2 separate regions of the Homo sapiens genome follow, and region 2 is linked to region 1. Evidence: promoter capture Hi-C in 16 types of primary human blood cells and fetal thymus (Javierre and others, 2016). All regions are on one chromosome and are shown on one strand. Each heading gives the region's core, a stretch centred on a gene start or on the middle of the fragment in contact. The rest is flanking DNA. Distances are from core to core; before and after follow the strand shown. Region 1 holds the start of GIT1 (GIT ArfGAP 1). Region 2 holds the start of NUFIP2 (nuclear FMR1 interacting protein 2).

Region 1 (3,300 bases), core at 487-2,986:
GGGCGGCCGTGTTCTTTTTTTGCCAGGCGGCGGTAGACACTGAACCCAGGTCGCTTGCGCTTCGGCCCGCGCTCTCAGCTGCCACGTGCTCGAGACGCGCCCACACAGCGGAGAAACAAAGACAGCCAAGCGGCAGGGCTGCCAGCAGCCTCCTCGACATTTAATAAATGAAATTCCATAGCTGGGGGTCGATCGGGGGTGAACGGGCGGCCACCGCTCGTGGACTGAGCGCCTGGCACGGGCTGCCTGGCCACTCCTCCCGTCTCACTCCCCCCGCCCCTTACCCCCTTCCCGCTGAGGCCACCAAGCCCATGGACTCTGGTGAGAGAGCAGCTCGGGGCGGCAGGTGGTGCTCCCCCCTACACACCAGCTAGGTATCGTTGCTTGCAAAAGCCCCACCAGCTGAGCGGCTGGCTGTCGAGGGAGGGGAGGCCTGCAAGATTTTTTTAAGGTGCAATTATAAATAAAGCCCATGGATCGCGATTTCAAACAAACTTGTCAATCTGGGCCGCAGCAAAAGGCGATGGAGGCAGCTTTGCATGTATTTCGGGTGGTGTGACTCATGAGCATTACTTGTCTCCCCTAGGGAAGGAGCCTGCCCACCCACAAATCACTGCCGCTCTGGCACCGTTGGGATAATCGACCAACTTGAGCACCCCTGCCAAAGGACTGCCCCCATCTTAACAAGCAGGAGTCTCTGACTCTTGGAGAACCCCTCCTCAATTGTCACCACTGACCTGGCCCCCAGGTCTGGCCCTGGGGACCTCTACCCTCTCCCCACAAGCAGAGTGCCCGGGCCTTTTGCTGCTGCAGGGATTGGGGGTTGGGTACACGCGCGGCACACGCGTATGGGGGCGCATGCTCAGTGCGGGGGCTGCGCTCATGTGCGGCCTCTACCTAGGCTCCCTGCCCCCCAGCCCACCCACGTCCCTCACCTGCCTTGCCTTTGCCTGCCTCGTCGTGTGAAGTCCAGGAAGAAAGGCCGTCACCTGAAACGGCCCCTCTATGTTATATGCACCCTTTCTGGACACACACACCTCTGGTGGCCCAGAAACACCGTGGGTGTGTGTAAGGCGGATGACAAGTGGATGTGAGTGCACACAGGCACAGTGGTCACTCCTCGGGAGGTCTTTAAAAACCGCCCAGATTCTCTCCTCTCTGGATGGAAGGATGCATGGAGAGATAGATATATTTTTAGTCCGGAGGCAGGGGAATACACTGCCTGACCTTTCTGGCACCTGGGCGTCCATATTGTTAGCAGTGGGCGTATTCAGCAAGAGTGTGACACATACACACACACCCCTGGACACACAGATGTGGACACCTACGGGACAGGGACGCACACCTCACCCCAACCAGAGATAGACGGGTACCCCAAGGCACAGCCCCTTTGACCTGGAGCGGGACTTGGGCCTCCAAGTCCTTCTTCCCTAATCCCCACCCTCGCCGTCCGTGGGCCCAGCGTCCCCCGGTCCACCCCACGCGGAAAGTGAAGGGGAGGGGGCTGTGAGGGTGACTCACATTGCCTCCGGGCCAGGCGAGCGCTGCAGCGGAGGCCAGGGCCGCAGGCCACGCTGCCCGCCGGGGCCGGGCATCTGCCGCGGCCCCTTTAAGCGCCCCCGCCCCCTCCTGCCCGCGCCCGGGCTTCCTTTCTCTAGGGGGCGCGGCCGGCAGCGCGCGGCGGGGCGGGGGTGCGGCCCCTCCCCCTGTGGGCAGGGCCTGCGCCGCTTCCTGCAGAAGCGGCCGGGAGCCGCGCAGGGGGCGGAGAGAGGAGCCGCGAGCGGCGGCGGGGCGGCGCGGGGCGGAGGGCGCCCGAGGGCGAGCGGGCAGGCGGGCACGGCGGGTTCCGGGCCAGCCCCGGGGCGGACGGTTGGCCGGGCGCGCGGAGCCTCGCCGGGGCCTCGCCGGAGCCGGGCCGGGCAGCAGGGGCCGCCGCCGCCGCCCGGGCCCGCCGCCCGCGCCCCCCACGCTGGCCCAGAGGGCTGCGGCCGCGTCGCCGCTGAGGATGTCCCGAAAGGGGCCGCGAGCGGAGGTGTGTGCGGACTGCAGCGCCCCGGGTAAGCGCGGCGGGGCCGGGGGCGGGACCGCACAGCCAGGCCGCCGCCGGGCGGGCGCCGGGGCCTGGCAAGAGCGCTGTGCGGGGCCGGAGGGCTGGGCGGGGCGGGGGGCTGCGGCCTCCAGGCTGGGCCCCCGCCTCGGCCACTGCGGAGCTGCGCCCTTGGCGGGAGGGCCGGCCTGGGGTGCCCATGCTCCCTGGAGGCCGTGGACTAGCGAGGAAGGACGTTCCCGGCGCCGCCTCCCGCTCCTCGGTCTGAGGGAGGCGGGCAGCTGGCTGCTCCTCCACCTCCATCTCTGTATCCGACGGAAGCGCCAGCCTGGGGTGGCAGGAGGGCCGTGGCGGAGGCCGTCAGGGCTTGGGAGGTGGGGGCGAGTGTGGTTTTATGTCATCTCAGTGCCACCCCCGCGTCTTGCACCTGCTGCTCGCGTGGTCGGTACGCCTGCCGGGGTGGTGGAGGGCAAGGAGCAGAGGGCCGGGCAGATGCGCCAGTGGGGCCTGAATACCGTCTCCTCAGGAGCAGATGAGCGGTGGCTACTCCCAGGACTCCCTGCCTCGGGTTCCTAAGGCTAGCGCTCCTTGCCGGGCCTGGCGTTCAGGGCCAGTCTAGACCCGGGTGTCTTCTCGGGAGGCATCCCCAGGCCTGCTGGTGGTGACTGGGAACAGCTCGGCTGGACCCTGCTGTTCCTGTTCACCGGTAAGGCCTGCTTGGGAAAGTGAGCTTGGCATCAAGCTATCCTGGGTGCGGGCCCCTCCCTGTCCCCTAGCCCAGTCTGGCCAGAAATGGGTGGGAGGCCGTGCCGAGATTCCCCGTATCCTGCTGGCTTCCTGGCCTGTCTCCTGGCTGTATTTACATGGTGGTTCCCTTCCTTTTCCTAACAGAGTTAGGACTGGGCTGGAGTGAAACCCCCCAGGCCTGCTGAGGAAGTCAGGGGTAATGATCCAAGAGGCTGCTCCCTTCTGATGAGGGAGGACAGCCAGTGACGGGGCTCTGCAGCTGGCCTGGGAAGGAAGCTCTAGCCCACATCCATTCTTTCTTTAGCAAAGGAGCTATCTCCCTGGTAGGCCCCTGGGCAGGCTGCGGAGGTCCGTGAACTCTAGCGGGGCTGTGGGCATGATTAAGAGTGAGAGTATGGGGTGCTGGTTTGTGGGCCCATAACTTTCAGCCACCCCTTGAGCAGGCCCAGGACCCCACCGGTTGAGCCTCACAGATGCTCTGGTGGTTCTGGGGGTGCCAAGCTAGA
Region 2 (3,086 bases), core at 132-2,631, 300 kb after region 1:
AGTCAAGTTCGTAGAGACAGAAAACAGAACAGTGGTTATCAAGGGATGGAAGGAGGAGGGAAAGGACATTTATTTTTATTGGGTATGAAGTTTCAGTTTGGAATGATGAAAAAGTTCTGGAGATAGATGATGGTCATGGTTCTACAACAATACGAATGTACCTAATGCACCTGAACCATACACTTAATATTAAGATGGTAAATTTTATATTATGAATATTTTACAATTAAAAAAATCCCCCAATCTATAACATACATTGGGAAAAGTGCATTTTATCTGTATATTCAGTTTAACAAATAATTACTAAGCAAATATATGTAATCACCACCTAGCCCCCAAAATGAAATATTATCAGAGTAACCTGTGTCCCTCCCCATCACAACCCTCTTCCTTCCTGAGTAACCACTATCATGGCTCTAACATTTGCTTTTGAAAATCATATACTGTGATGTGGTAATGCAGGATAAGTTAAATCTACACTACAAAACGCTACAGAATATTTCTTTTAATTTCAATTTTTCCATAAGTGCCAAAAAAAAAAAAAACAAACCCACTTAATAACTTTTAAGTGCTCTTTCTCCCCTTCCTTTGCTCTTGAAACTTCTCATTCTAAAACCTATTTTGGTTCCACAGTTGACCTCACCTGCAGAGTTTAATTAAAAAAAAAAAAACCTTCAGTGTAAATTTTCATTCCTCCTGCTCTCCCTTGCCTCCAACTACAAAGAAACAATGATTTAAACCCTTTGTGCCCTTTTAGAAAATTACACAGATACCCCATTGTGGAACCCTATAATCCCTTCGTGGAAAGGAAGAGATTAGCATATGAATACAAAGCAAAATGAATCCAGAATACAAAATGATCTACTGGATTGTGAAGCTCTTGTATGCTTAAAAATGTATTTATTTCCTCTTTTTGTATTGCCCCTTTAGTGGTCTCGGGGTTAAGGGAATTGAGCTTCCCTTTCTGGTTACCCGGAAAAGGATTAAAAACAAAACAAAACAAAAAACAAAAAAACACCAGATTCTAAGAGGTGCAAAGCCAGCAGATGGCTCACAGCACCAGTGGAATCGCCAGTGGAATCTGCTACCCTCGACACGAGCCTGCTTGCCGGCGAGGAGTGTAGAAAGTGCTGTTCACAGACTGCGTGGTGAAGGAGAGAAAGCGACAGAAGAGAGAGCCATAGTGCTGACGTTGAAGGCCCGGCCCTGTGAGGTTGCACAGGGTAAGTGGCGTTGGCCAGGCGGCAGCGGCGAAGGGGAAGGAAAGAGGATTTGAGCTGGGGGCGGGGCTTGCGGCACAGCGTGGCTCCTGATTGTTGGAGTGCGGCTGCCAATCTCGCAGAATCGCTCGGTTAACCAGTGCGCTGGCGAGACGCGCTCAGATATACTGAGTGAGCCCTGAGAAGCAGTCTCAGATCCTGACGGTGCAGCAGCCCGCAGCCTCAGCCAGGGAGTCCCAGCCGCTTTCAATGGAGGAGAAGCCCGGCCAGCCACAGCCTCAGCACCATCACAGCCACCACCATCCGCACCATCACCCTCAGCAGCAGCAGCAGCAGCCGCACCACCACCACCATTATTATTTCTACAACCACAGCCACAACCACCACCACCACCATCATCACCAGCAGCCTCACCAATACCTGCAGCATGGAGCCGAGGGCAGCCCCAAGGCCCAGCCAAAGCCGCTGAAACATGAGCAGAAACACACCCTCCAGCAGCACCAGGAAACGCCGAAGAAGAAAACAGGTCTGGGAGGGAGGACGGGTGGGGGAAGGGGGTTGGGGGTGGAGGACAGGAGAGATGGGGGTGGGGCTGGATCCGAAAAGCGCGGACGGGGTCGGGGTGTGTGTGTGTGTGTCCCCTCCGGCTCTGGGGATGCCCCTTTCATTCTAGAGCTCGGGCTGAGCAATGGGGTTTGCAGCGCCCTCTCCTTCCCTCCAGCATGGGAGAGGCCCAGCCAGGCCAGCGTGACCTTCCTGGCCCCGGCCCCGGCTGAAGGGAGACCTGCTGGGTCGGCCTTGCAAGTCCAACCTCATTATTCTTTTCCCATTCACCTCCCTGCGTCCCTGGAGTTACCTCAATTTGGGGGCCCTGAGATGGGGTAAACCTACCCCCCCAAAAAATCCCTCGAGGTGTAACTCAGGAAGGCCTAGCGAATCCCGACTCGGATGGTGTCGCGAGACCCTTTTGCAGGCGGCGAGGAGTGGGTAGGTAGGGTGAGTTGAGGAAGTGCCCCTCACCCGCCACCCCAAGCCCACCTGTGGCCTTGGGGCTCCCCGTCTCGGTGGGGGGGGCTGTTGGGACCCCTCATCTCACGGGTCATTTCCACCACTAAACGCCCTTTTTGGGCGCCGGACCCCGCAGTCTTGTCCCGCGGCTCCTCCCGAGGCCGGCGCCCCGCGCCCGCTCCCCCCAGAGCCGGCGCGGCTGGAATGTTCTCTCCTCCTCGCGGGGCCGCTTCCTGTCCGCCATGTTGGAAGCCGATTCCTGTCACCGACTCCGGCCCACTGAGGAGCGGAGGGGGAAGGGTGTCGAGGGCCACACGGGGCGGCGGAGCCGGGTGACCCGGGATCACCACCGGCCGCAGCCTCGCCCCCTGCACTGCGGGGGCGCCGGCGCCCCCCGCACCGCGGCCGCCCCCCCCCCCGTCGCCGGCCGGGGTTGTGTAACCCGGTGGCGGCGCGCGGCCCCGGGCGGGTCCCTGGGGTGAGGGGCGGGGGCGGTTGGGGTGGGGGAGGGAAGCGGCCACGAGGGGAGCGGCCTGCGCAGGGCCCCGCGCGCCAGCGGCCGCGTTTCCCGCTCCCGGGTGCGGCGGGAGGCGCGGGCAGTCGGGGCGGGGAGCCGGCCTCGAAGCGGAGCTGAGAGGGAAGGAGGCCGCGGGCGGCGGCCGCGGCGCTCCTAGAGGCAGGAGGCCTGGGGGGGCGGCGGGGGGATTCATTTCGGGTAGAGGCGGTGCCTGAGGCCGGGTGGGGTACCCAGCGGGAACCCAGCTCCCCGGTCACGAGTTTCTCTGCCACAGGAACCTCGTCTCCTGCCAGGTTCGCTCACGACTCCGCCTCTGAGGCTTTCACTTGGGCCTTTTCCTT

Evidence for each region. The method cuts DNA at HindIII sites, captures the fragments that hold promoters and counts their contacts. A CHiCAGO score of 5 or more calls a contact.
Region 2: the fragment with the promoter of NUFIP2 here is called in contact with the fragment with the promoter of GIT1 in region 1 in 2 of 17 cell types (endothelial precursors and fetal thymus); the score reaches 5.7 in endothelial precursors.

What each region holds. Positions count from the first base shown.
Region 1 is chr17:29,588,084-29,591,383 of GRCh38, reverse strand. GIT1 (GIT ArfGAP 1) reads left to right here and starts at 1,736. Exons shown (of 20, transcript NM_014030.4): 1 at 1,736-2,057. The coding sequence starts at 2,006. RefSeq lists enhancers at 756-1,655, 2,555-3,300 and silencers at 1,408-1,887, 2,148-2,337. The HindIII fragment of the contact is 9,256 bases long and covers 1-3,300 here.
Region 2 is chr17:29,292,443-29,295,528 of GRCh38, reverse strand. NUFIP2 (nuclear FMR1 interacting protein 2) reads left to right here and starts at 1,381. Exons shown (of 4, transcript NM_020772.3): 1 at 1,381-1,746. The coding sequence starts at 1,470. RefSeq lists enhancers at 1,013-1,212, 1,523-1,622, 1,316-2,076 and silencers at 1,783-1,902, 2,533-2,712. The HindIII fragment of the contact is 5,437 bases long and covers 1-3,086 here.